2 separate regions of the Homo sapiens genome follow, and region 2 is linked to region 1. Evidence: promoter capture Hi-C in 16 types of primary human blood cells and fetal thymus (Javierre and others, 2016). All regions are on one chromosome and are shown on one strand. The core of a region is centred on a gene start or on the middle of the fragment in contact, and the rest is flanking DNA. Distances in the headings are between cores, read along the strand shown. Region 1 holds the start of CCDC13 (coiled-coil domain containing 13). Region 2 has its middle 5.0 kb from the start of SNRK.

Region 1 (6,628 bases), core at 3,441-5,940:
TCGCTTGAGCCCAGGAGTTCGAGATCAACCTGGGCAACATGGCGAAACACCATCTCTACAAAAAATACAAAAATTAGCTCGGTGTGGTGGTGCGAGCCTGTGGTCCCAACTACTTGGGATGCTAAGGTGGGAAGATAACCTGAGCCCAGGTGGTTGAGGCTGTAGTGAGCTGTCATTGCACGACTGCATTCCAGCCTGGGCGATAGAGCGAGACCCTGTCTCAAAAACAAACAAAAACCCCCAAACCTCTCTACTTGCCCCGTTCTTCCACTCCCTAGCATCCTCTATTCTACTTTCTGTCTCTATGAATTTGTTCATTCTAGGTACCTAATATACATGGAATCGTACAATATTTGCCATTTTGTGTCTGGCTTATTTCACTTAGCATAATGTTTTCAAGGTTCATCCAGAATTCAGAATTTCATTCTTTTCTAAGGCTGAATATTCTGTGGAGTATATATACCACCTTTTGTTTACTCATTCATCTGTTGAAGGTTGCTTGGGTTGTTTCTACCTTCTGGCTATCGTGAATAATGCTGCTATGAACACTGGCATACAATTACCTGTTTGAGTCCCTTCTTTATTTTTTATTATTACTTTTTTTGTAGAGACAAGGTCTCGCTATGGTGACCAGGCTGGTCTCGAGTTCCTGGCCTCAAGCAGTCCTCTACCTCAGCCTCCCAAAGGGCTGGGATTACAGGCATGAGACACTGTGTCTGGCCAAGTCCCTTCTTTCAAATCTTTCGGGCATATATTTAGAAGTGGAATTGTAAATCATACGGTAATTCAATGTTTAACTTTTTGAGGAACCACCAAACTGTTTTCTACAGTGGATATACCATTTTACATTCCCACTAGCTCTACATAAGGGTTCCAAATTCTTCACATCCTGGCAAACACTTGTTATTTTCCATTTTTTGGATAATATCCATCCTAATGGGTGTGAAATGGTATCTCGTGGTTTTGGTTTGCATTTCTCTAATGGTTAGTGATGTTGGGCATGTTTTCATGTGCTTATTTGCCATTTGTATATCTTCTTTGGATTAATGTCTATTGAAGTCCTTTGCCCATTTTTGAATTGGGTTTTGTTGTTGAGATAGCTAACCTGATTTTTGACAAAGGTGCAAAAGCAATTCAATGGAGGAAGCATAGCTTTCCAACAAATGGTGCTGGAACAACTGGACACCATAGGCAAAAAAGCAAAAAAGAACCTTGATCTAAATTTCATACCTTTATATAAAAATTACATCAAAATAAATCATGGGCATAAAACTCTAACACTTTTATAAAAATGGGGGGAAATCTTTGGGACCCAGGGCTAGGCAAAGAGTTCTTTCTTAGACTTGAAATCAAAAGCACAATCCATTAAAGAAGGAATTGATAAATTGGACCTTGTCAAAATCAAAGCCTTTTGTTCTGTGAAAGCCCAAGTGAAGAGGATTAAAAGATGAACTACAGATTCGGAGAAAGTATTTGCAAACTACGTATCCAACAACGGACTAGTATATAGAATATATAAAGAATTCTCAAAACTCGACAGTTAGAAATTGGGCAAAAGACATGAACAGACACTTCACCAAAGAAAATATACAGATGACAAATAAGCACATGAAAAAGATGTTCAATATCATTATCCGTCACGTACATTAGAACCACAATGATATCACTACACACCTATTAAAATGACTAAAATAAAAATAGTGACATCAAATGCTGGCAAGGATGTGAAGAAACTGTGTCACTTAAACATTTCTGGTAAGAATGTAAAGTGGAACAGTCACTCTGGAAAACAGGTTTGGCAATTTCTTCTAAAACTAGATATGCAGTTACCATACTACACAGCAATTGCACTCTTGGGCATTTATTCCATAGGAATGAAAACTTATGTTCACACAAAAACCTATACATGAATGTTTATAGCAGCTGAATCATAATTGCTCCTAACTGGAAACAACCCAGATGTCTTTCAGTGGGTAAATGGTTAAACAAACTGGTACATTCATACTAGAACTACTCAGCAATAAAAAGGAATGGATTATTGATACACACAACAACTTGGATGAATCTCCAAGGAATTGTTCTGAGTAAAAAAAAAAAAAAATCCATCCTAAAAAGTGTACATGCTGAGTTATTTCATTTATATAACATTTTTGAAATGACAAAATTTTAGAAATGGAGGGCAGACTGGTGGTTGTAAAGGGTTAGGGACTAGGGCAGGAGGAGGGAGGGAAGTGTACATAGTCATAAAATCACAACAGAGAGATCCTTGTGATAGTATTTGGTATCTTTTTTTTTTTTTGAGACAGAGTCTCACTCTTGTCGCCCAGGCTGGAGTGTAATGGCGCGATCTCAGCTCACTGCAACCTCCACTTCCTGAGTTCAAGCGATTCTCATGCCTCAGCCTCCCAAGTAGCTGGGATTACAGGCAAGCACCACTATGCCTGGCTAATTTTTGTTATTTTTAGTAGATATAGGATTTTGCCATGTTGACCAGGCTGGTCTTGAACTCCTGGCCTCAAGTGATCTGCCTGCCTCAGCATCCCAAAATGCTGGGATTATAGGCGTGCATGAGTCACCATGCCCGGCTAGTATTTGATATCTTGATGGTCATGGATACACAAACTGACACGTGATAAATCAAAAGAAAAGTACAGTTAAATTGGAGAAATCTAAGAGGAGTAGGTTGTATCGATGTCAATATCCTGGTTGTAATATTATACTAAAGTTCTGCAAAATATCATTGTGGAGAACTGGAAAAGTATACAGGGGATCTCTATTATTTTTTACAACTGCATGTGATTCTATAAAAATCTCAATATAATTTCAAATTAAAAAGCAAAAAACAAAGGGCAGTGTCCTACAGATACTTCTGGCTAGAGAAACAAAGTGGGCTGGAATTAACAAACATCTGTATACTGTACATGAGGAAATACTGGTGACCCAGATTGGATTCGCCAGCTTCTTGGATGATAAAATGTCAAGCTTATAAACTAAAGAAAATTCTCAAAAGAATTTTGGGCAGAAAAAAAAAATGGCATGAGAGCCTTAGTGGTGACCGTGGAAAAGTAACAAACCTAGAGGAAAATCATCCCTGCTTTTTAAAAAATGGGTTACTGCAAAAATGATATCCTCGTCAAAAATAATCCTTGGATTGCTGGAGCAAATGTTACCCCTTTCCCAAACTTTCTAATACATACATTCTAGAATGTCGGTTCTGAAATTCTCTTGCATCCTTAATTTTCTCACAGCATGTTCTTATTTTAATGAAAACCTGGCTTTCTGCTAGGATCCATGCTTTCCAGAAGCCCTCTAAGTAGACCTGGCTATTCCTTTTCCTATGCCACATAGTCCCATCGTGGTCATGAGGCAAACGAATGATACTCCCCACTACACACACCATTTAAAAAAAACCCTAATCCTTTGAGGCTCACATCTACCTGAATCCTACTCTTTATCCTGTCTCTCTTTGCTGCCACCTGTATATTATACGTCTCCCACCCTCAGCTCACCAGGCAGCAATTGGAGACCAACGGGAAAGATCCATTTTTCCTTTATCAGGAAACTTCGGGTTTATACCTGCAGTGCTGATGGCAGTCTAGTGCCGTATCTTATGTATGCATGTCTATGGGATGGGTATTCATTCACCTTATGAGGAAAAAAAATAGAAAAACAACTGCCAAGGTTTTCAAATTATGAAGTCCTGGATAAATATTTGGGCAGGAGCTGTGGCTCACGCCTGTAATCCCGGCACTTTAGGAGGCCAAGGTGGGCGGATCACCTGAGGTCAGGAGTTCAAGACCAGCCTGGTCAACATGGTGAAACCCCGTCTCCACTAAAAATAAAAAAATTAGCCAGGTGTGGTGGCGGGTGCCTGTAATCCCAGCTACTCAGGAGGCTGAGGCAGGAGAATCGCTTGAACCTGGGAAATGGAGGTTGCAATGAGCTGAGATCGCACCACTGCACTCCAGCCTGGGCGACACAGCGAGACTCTATCATAGATAGATAGATAGATTAGATAGATAGATAGATAGAAAGAAATCTCCCTTGAATCATCTTTCCTAGAAATTTGCCTCCCACCCCCATATTGCCCTGAAATATAGTAGTGTCTTACATTGGAAGGTGCCATTTAAAAAAAAAAAAACAAGTATTTTCCTTTATGAAAATAAACGATGTTCATTATTTTAAAAATTCTCTAAAGTGTAAAAATAAAAACACAGCACTGCTATTCCACCACCCAAATATAACCACTTTTAATATTTCTATTTCGGTCTTGTTTTAGTGCCTAGTTTGAAATAAACACAACTTTATTTATTTAGCATTGCTATATTGCGTCCTGCTTCCTTCACTCACCATCATAACATGGCCTTTCCCCACACTGTTTTACATTTTTCAAATATATCTGAATGGCTACTTTAAATTTCATGGTGAGATCGTTCGCTTTTTAACTCCCCAACAGGAGAGCGGAATGGGCATCTCTGTGCAGAACGTTTGGTCCACAAAACTTTTTTAAAAATATACTCCAGAAGATTTAAAATCTCCAGCGCACTCGAGATCGTGCTCGCTTGGATCCAGCCCAGCGCGCCATCAGCGCCTCTGTCACTTTCAGAACTCTTGGCGCCCCCTCGGCCCCCGTAGAGTAGCGTTGAAAACGCGCAAGTGACGTCGCTTGTTTCCCTGGTGACGGTTGCCAGGGCAGCGCGTGTCGGCGTCCGGAGGAGGTGACCTAGCCGCCGCGGTCCTAGAAGGGAGAAGTGGAGAGAGACCGCTGTAAGTGCCGGGGAGAGCGGAAGGGCCCGGGCCGGAGCTGGGAAAGCCCGCAGCTGCCGGGGGCGCGGAACCGAGCCCGAGCGCAACCCCAGCCCGAGCGCGCTGCCACTGGCCGGGCGCTCACCGCGTGCTGGGCGCCCAGCGAGGACTCTTCCCCTTCGTCCTTTGAATCTTCACACACAGCCCTCTTCTAACCCAGGCAGACGCTTATTTTCCATGCAGTACATGGGTTAATGAGGCGCAGAGGGTGGGTCGCCTGCCCCAAAGTCATAGCGTAGATGGCACAGTCAGAACTCGAACTCAGGTCCGCCTGACAAGCGCTGTTTGCTGGGCCTCTGCCACTGGGCCCTCTCGCACCGCACTGAAAGATGCGACCCGACGGCGTGCACTTCCGCATCTCCCAGTTCCCCTTCCAGGCCCAGCCCCCACAGGACTGGGGACTCGCAAGAGGGAGTTCCCCTCCAAGCCCGGAGTCCAGCCCTGAGAACCAGAGCATCACCCCGCTCCCATCCCAAACCCATCCCTACGAAGATGCTAGCAGTGCACAGAGCGCCAAACTAGGCATCCGTGGGCGGCCTCCCCACACCTCCAGGCCCCTAGACTGTTGTTGAGAATACTCGAAAAGAACACAGTAAAAGAAAAGAAGAAAGAGAAGGAGAGGGGAAGAGAAAAACAATGAAAAAAGTGGCAGGCCGATGGGGCAAGGGGTCTCAATCCTTCCTCACTGGTCCCTGTCACCTATGGTCCCATATCCTGTGGGATCTTGCTTCCTCATAGGACTCCAGAGTGCATGCCACTCTTCCTACTCCCTGGCTCTAAGTCCTACCTGAGCCAAGAGTTCTTTCCATGCAGCTCTAGCCTTTACTTTATTTTTTTTATTATTACTTTTTTTTTTTTTTTTTTTTTTTGACGGAGTCTCGCTCTATCGCCCAGGCTGGAGTGCAGTAGCGCGATCTTGGCTCATTGCAACCTCTGCCTCCCAGGTTCAAGCGATTCTCCTGCCTTGGGCTCGAGTAGCTGGGATTACAGGCGCCCGCCACCATGCCTGGCTAATTTTGGTATTTTTAGTAGAGATGGGGTTTCACCATGTTGGCCAGGCTGGTCTCAAACTCCTGACCTCAGGTGATCCACCCACCTCAGCCTCCCAAAGTTTTGGGATTACACGCATGAGCCACCACGCCCGGCTTAGCCTTTACTTTTAAAAGAAAATAGACTTAAAGCAGATTTTTAGAAGCATTAAACAAAAAACAGTTCCTTTATGTATTCCGTATTCCCATTTCCTCTGTTGTTAACATCTTACACATTGCATTGGTGTGGTACATTTGTTATCATTGATACAACTATACTGGTATGTTATTACTAACTAAAGTCCATAGTTTACATTAGAGTTCATCTGTTGTTGTTGTTGCTGCTGCTGTATTGAGACAGGGTCTCACTTTGTCACCCAGGCTGGAGTGCGGTGGCATGATCATGGCTCACAGTAGCCTCCAACCCCTGGGCTCAAGCAATCCTCCCACCTCAGCCTCCTGAGTAACTGGGAACACAGGCACATGCCACCATGCCCAGCTAATTTTTTTATTTTTTGTAAAGCTATGGTCTTGCTATGTTGCCCAAGCTGGTCTCAAACTCCTGGCCTCAAGTGGTCCTCCCACCTTGGCTTCGTAGAGTGTTGAGATTACAGGTGTGAGTCATCACACCTGGCCAGTGTTCATTGCTTAAGGTTGCACAGGTCTACAAGTTTTGCTAAATGTGTAATGCTGTGTATCCACCAGTAAAGTATACAGAACAGTTTCACCTCCCCAAAAACCCCCTAGGCTTTACTGTTCATTGTTCCTTCCCACCAACCCCTGGAAACCACTGA
Region 2 (6,628 bases), core at 1,138-3,637, 510 kb before region 1:
TCTTCTAGAGAAGGACGCAGTACTGGCCACATGGTAAATCATTTATTCATCCCCAGTATTTCTTGGGTAGCTGAAGTGCTGCTGGCAAGAATATGACCCAGTTTTGGTTCCACACCATAAATGTGGTGACATGATTTGATTATGCTTCGGCAATATTTTAAGATATTCAAGTACAAATTAATAGTATTACTTAAGTTGGAATTTAAGCAAATGTGCTTATAGTTAATGAAGAAACTCCTTTTCCACTCTGCCCTGGGGCTTTCTCCAACACACTGCTTTTTTAATGTTGGGTCTTTTTATGGACCTGTAAGAAGCTTTAATTAGATGTACAGCATTCTACAAAACGACAAGATGAAGCATGCTTGCTTGTATTACAGTCTCTGTGATTCAGATCTCAAAAATAACATAATGCCACCAGTTTAAGGAAGATGTTGTTTATTGGAAGGAAACCAGGGAGGTGCCACAAATTAGATCAAAATGTGAAAATTGAGCAGACTGATGAAAGAATTGTCATTTTCATCTTTGGAACCCCAAAAGCAGCATATGTAACAAGGTTATCTTCTCTGGATATTGTTAGTTTTTGTAATTTATTTCAAATTTTAAAATAAATGTATTTAAAACAACAGACATTGAATATTCATACACAGTTCAATTTTGAGTTGTGACATTTTATTTAACAACATTCCCTTTTACATATTTAACTAGTTATTTCATACATTTATACTTGTGCATTTCTAGATCCTGGCTTCACCCCAGTAGGATCAAAATAATACTTAATTGGAATGACCTAAAGAGTTCCTCAAAGACTCCTTCACCACCCTATGGGCATCAGTTAACATCTTCTACTCTTTTATCTCAGATGTCAGTTAAGGTCCTGTGTGTGTGTGTGTGTGTGTGTGTGTGTGTGTGTGTGTGTGAGAGAGAGATATTTCTGATAGTTGCAAACAAGAATTGGAAATGCCAGTCCTTAACTCTGCTTGTTTGCAACCAGTGAACTAGAAGATAGGACAGACATTGACATTTAACCCCATCTCTACTGCTAAGAGCAAGATGGCTTTGGGAAAGTTGCATAACCTTCTATATGTTTCTTCTGTAAAATGAGAAAGACAGTGATGATAATAATACCTTTCTTATAAGTTTGATGTAAAGCAGTGGTTCTCAAAGTGTGCTCCCTGGACTAGCAGCATCAGCTTCTCCTGGGAACTGGATTGAAATGCAGATTTTCCAGTTCCACCTCAGACCTACTGAATCAGAAACTCTGATTTCTCTGTTTTAAGACTTGCAGGTGATTCTGAGACAGATTAGAGTTTGAGAACCAGAGTTGATGAGATTGAGTTTATATAAAGTATTAGAACAAAGGCTGGCATATAGTAAGCAGTATATTAATGAATATTTTTTAATGTGTGCAATATGATCTTGCCAAAATATGCAAAGTCTAATTTAGGCCAAAAGAAGCATGTCCATGTTGTTCTTTCAGCAAATAAATCCTGATAAATCCCTTATCTAAAAACGTCAATACAGCCTACCAAGCCCTTCCTGATCTGGTCCCTGGCTTCCTCTCCTGCACTTTCTTTTCTGCATGTGTACCCTGTCTCCAGCCTTCCCAGTTCTCACAAAGAGAATTGACTTTTCACAATTCCCAGTCTTTGCCTATTCTGTTCCTTCTGTCTGGAAATGTCACCTACTCCTTTTCTCCACTTACTACACCCGCAGTTTCCTGAATTCCTACTTACCCATCAAAATCCAGCTCCCATGTCACATCCTCTGTGCTACTCCTAACTGTCCCACTCCAGTCAGAGCCAGGAGTTCTCTGGGACCCCCATACCCTCCCACTCATAGTATCATACAGTTTTGTAATTTTATTGTTCCATTTTCTCCCTTTGGATCTTAAACTCTGGGGGGACAAGGATTGTATTTTATTTAAATTTCTATTCCTGCCACCTAGCACTGAGGTTGCAAATAGGCAGTCCCAGGGCTTTTCACCCACAGACTTGTGGCATTGTTTTTCCCCACATAGGTTCTTTAAGAATTTGAATTAGTTGAGAACATTTTTAAATTGGGAGATTTAATACTTTTGTTTAACAGTTTCATTGAATATAATCTGCATACCATAAAATTCACCAATAATAGGTGGACGATTCAATGGTTTTTTAGTAAATTTATAAAGTTATGCAGCCATCGCCCCAATCCACTTTTGAAATATTTTCATCTGGCTTGGGAGAGGTGGCTCACGCCTGTAATCCCAAAACTATGGGAGGCAGAGGTGGGAGGATCACTTCAGGCCAGGAATTCAAGACCAACCTGAGCAACACAGAGAGACTCCGTCTTCACAAAAATAATGAAAAACATTAGCTGGGCATGGGGGCATGCACCTTGGTCCCAGCTACTTGGGAAGCTAAGGTGGGAGGATCACCTGAGCCCAGGAGGGCGAGGCTGCGGTGAGCTGGAATCTCACCCCTGCACTCCAGCTTGGGCAACAGAGTGAGACCCTATCTCAAAAAAAAATTTTTTTATCAACCCCAAAAGGTCTCTCCTGTGCACATGCAATCAATCCCACTCCAGCTTTCAGCCCTCAACACATACTATCTGTTATCTGTCTCTATAGATTTGTGTTTTTCTAGAAATGTCATATAAATGGAATCATACCATGTGTACTCTTTTGTGTCTGACTTCTTTCATGTAGCATAATGTTTTTCCATCTAGCATGTATCAGTAGTTCATTCCTTTTTGTTGCTGAACAGTATTCCTTTATATGGATATATTAGATTTTCTTTATCCATCCAAGTGATAAACATTTCATTTATTTCCAGATTTTTGCTATTATGGATACTGTTGCTATGACTGTTTAAACTCTTAGTGGGGACATATTTTCGTTTCTCTTGGGTACATTGCTGAGTGGAATTTTGGGGTCATGCAATAACTCTATGCTTAACATTTTAAGAAACTGACAAATTATTTCTGAAATGACTGTACCACTTTACATTACCACCAACAGTGTATGAGGGTTCTAGTTTTTCCACATCCCTGCCAACACTTGGCACTGTTAGACTTTTAGATTATTACCATTCTAATACATATATAGTGGTATCTCATGATTTTCATTTGCATTTCCCTAATGACTAATGATGTTCCTTAGCTTTCCATGTGATTTTTGGTCATTCATATATCTTCTTTGATAAAAGGGCTTTTCAAATCTTTTGCCCATTTTTAATTGTGTTGTTTGTCTTATTGTGTTGTAAGAATTTTTTATGCTTTTTGGATATAAGTCCTTAATTAGAAATGTGATTTGCAAATATTTTCTCCCAGGCTGTGGCCTGTCTTTTCATTTTTAAAATGATGTGTTTAGAAGTTATAAAGTTCTGAATTTTGGTGAATTCCAATTTGTCCAATTTTTCTTTCATGATCCTTGGTTTGGTGTCATATCTAAGAATTTTGCTTAAGCAAAGGTCACAAAGATTTTCTTCTCTGGTCTTTTCAAGTTTTATAGTTTTAAGTTTGGCCTTTAAGTCTATGATCCATTTTGAATTTATTTTTACTCATGATGAGAGGTTTAGAGGCTATGGGGCTTTTTTTTTCATTTGATTTTTGCTTATGGATATTTAATCATCCCAGAATCATTTGTTGAAAACGGTATCCTTTCCCAATTAAATTGCCTTGGCAATTTGTTGGCAATCAACTTAATGTAAGGATTTTCTATTCATTTTTGTTGATCTATATGGCTATTCTTACACCATTATGATCCAGTCTTGACTACTATTGTTATATAGTAAGTTTTGAAAACGAGTAGAGTAAGTCTTCCATCTATAGTGTTCTGTTTCAAGATTGTTTTACTATTCTAGGCACGTTGCATTTCCGTGTAAACTATAGGGTCAGCTTGTCAATTTCCACAAAAAAAATTGTTGACTTTTTGAAATTTTGATGAAGATTATGTTATATGAATAGATCAATCTGGGGAGAATTATCATCTTAACAATAATGAGTCTTTCAATTCATGAATATGATATGTATAGTCAGTTTCTTTTCTCTTTTTTTTTTTGAGACAGAATTTCACTCTTCTTGCCCAGGCTGCAGTGCAATGGCACAATCTCGGCTCACTGCAACTCTGTCTCCCAGGTTCCAGCGATTCTCCTGCCTAGGCCTCCTGAGTAGCTGGGATTACAGGCGCTTGCCACCACGCCCAGCTAATATTTTGTATTTTTAGTAGAGTCGGGATTTCACCACGTTAGCCAGGCTGGTCTTGACCTCAGGTGATCCACCTGCCTTGGCCTCCCAAAGTGTTTGGATTACAGGCATGAGCTACCGTGCCTGGCCAGTCAGTTTCTAATAGTTGCTTTTTCCCCCTCATCTTGAGTCCCATTTTCCTGTTTCTTTCCATGTCTCGTATTTTTTATTAAAAACTGGACATTTAAAATTATATGTTGTAGCAGCTCTGGATTCTGATTTTCTCCTTTGAAAGCTTTCCCCCCCTTTCATTAGTAGCTTGCCTGAACTTAATCCGCAGAATCTTCCCTCATGATGTGCAGCACATGATTCTGCTCAGTTGTTTTGTTCTTAGTTATATTTTTTAGTCTGGCTTCCCCATGGTTGCCTCTGTATCTGCATATCTTAATGGTCAGCCAATGATCGGGCAGACATTGTGTCCAAACCCATAAGGTTTCCACACTTTGCTGATGAATCTGTGCATGAATTGAAAAGCAAGGTAGTTTTCAAGCCTACTTCAGCTTTTACTTTCTGCTAAACCCTTTCAGGTCTCCCTGGCACATGTGCTTACCTTCCCAGTCAGCCAGGGATGTGAGGAAAGCTTATCTATCTAGTCCTTCAATGGATCTCTTCTTTACATGCTCTTCCCTTTACATTTTTTCTGGTTCATTCCTTACACCAAGGATTGCAGGCTCAGACTAGCCAAGCTATGTATTTTCCCCCTCTGTTTCCTACCATGTTTACTACTTTTACAGATAATACCACAGAGCGTGGGTTTGTGCCCTCCACTCCAAATCAAATGAGCTGTCTTTCAAAACAACACTACTGGTTTTCATAGCCAGTCATCCCCTGGTAAACACTACCTCACCAACTGAGCTGAGGGTTGGACTGGGGAATGGAATACATACTCCCACTATTAATATCTGAAGTTTTAGAATTTCTTCATGAACGAATATTTCTCTTTTTTCGTTTTTCGGTTTTGTTTTGTTCATTTGATTTTAGTCTATTTCTAGTGTTCTGAAATCATTGTTTTTGCCAGGCACTGTGGCTTACGCTGTAATCCATGCAACTTGGAAGGCTGAGGTGGGAGAATTACTTGAGGCCAGGAGGTTGAGATCAGCTTGGGCAACATAGTGAAATCCCATCTCTACAAAAATTAAAATGTTTAAAAATTTTCAAAAAAGAAATCATTGCTTTTGAAAACTGTGATAGGCAGAATTCTAAGAATGAACCTCAATGACCCTTGCCCTTGTATAATCCCTACCCCTCTGAGTCTGGGTGAAACCTGTATATATGATGAGATGTCACTCCTGTGATATGTAATACTGGCACACCTCACAGATATTGCAGGTTCAGTTCCAGACCACCTCATTAAAGTGAGTCACACAGCTTTTTTTGTTTCCCAGTGCATATGAAGTTATGTTTACACTCTACTGTAGTCTATTAAGTGTATATCTTTAAAAATGTACACACCTTAATTTAAAAACACTTTATGCTAAAAACTGCTAACAATCATCTGAGCCTTCAGTGAGTTATAATCTTTTTGCTGATGGAGGGTCTTGCCTCGATGTTGATGGCTGCTTACTGATCAGGTTGGTGGTTGCTGAAGGTTGGGGTGGCTGTGGCTATTTCTTAAAATAAGACAACAATGAAGTTTGTCTCTTCAGTTGACTCGTGCTTTCACGAAAGAATTCTCTGCAGCAGGTGATGACGTTTGAGTGTGTGATACCCACAGTCGGACTTCTTTCAAAATTGGAATCAATTCTCTCAGACTCTGCTGCTGCTTTATTAACTAAGTTTATGTTGTATTCTAATCCTTTGTTGTCATTTCAACAATATTAACAGCATCTTCATCAGGGTAGGTTCCATTTTAAGAAACCACTTCTTTGCTCATCCATAAGAAGCAACTCCTCATCCATTCAAGTTTTATCTTGATATTATAGCAATTCAGTCACTTCTTCAGGCTCTACTTCTGATTCTAATTCTCTGGCTGTGTCCACCATATTTGAAGAGACTTCCTCCACTGAAGTCTCTAACCCCTCAAAGTCATCCATGAGGGTTGGAATCGACTTCTCACAAACTCCTGTTAATGTCTATATTTTGACCTCCTCCCATGAATCGTGAATATTCTTCTTGTTTTGTTTTGTTTTGTTTTGTTTTGTTTTGGTACAGGGTCTTGCTCTGGTTACCCAGGCTGGAGTGCATTGGTGCAAACAAGGCTCACTGTAGCCTTGATCTCTTAGGCTCAAGTGATCCTCTTGCCTTAGCCTCTCGAGTAGTTGGGACCACAGGCTCGTGCCACCACATCTTGCAATTTTAAAAAAATTTTTGTAGAGATGGGGTCTTGCCCTGTTGCCCAGGCTGGTCTCAAACTCCTGGGCTCATGTGATCCTCCCTCCTTGGCCTCCAAAATGCTGGGATTACAGGC

What was found. Contacts are between HindIII fragments. The CHiCAGO score rates a contact against its expected background, and 5 or more counts as called.
Region 2: a contact is called between a fragment that was not itself captured here and the fragment with the promoter of CCDC13 in region 1, in 1 of 17 cell types (neutrophils). The highest score is 5.3, in neutrophils.

The regions. Positions count from the first base shown.
Region 1 is chr3:42,771,315-42,777,942 of GRCh38, reverse strand. It overlaps CCDC13 (coiled-coil domain containing 13), which reads left to right and starts at 4,690. Exons shown (of 16, transcript NM_144719.4): 1 at 4,690-4,767. It overlaps CCDC13-AS2 (CCDC13 antisense RNA 2), which reads right to left. Exons shown (of 2, transcript NR_122070.1): 2 at 4,308-4,738. RefSeq lists an enhancer at 4,510-4,679 and a silencer at 4,810-4,969. The HindIII fragment of the contact is 4,325 bases long and covers 2,985-6,628 here.
Region 2 is chr3:43,278,189-43,284,816 of GRCh38, reverse strand. No RefSeq gene overlaps it. Among named protein-coding and RNA genes, the nearest start is that of SNRK, 5.0 kb to the left of the region's middle. The HindIII fragment of the contact is 4,142 bases long and covers 317-4,458 here.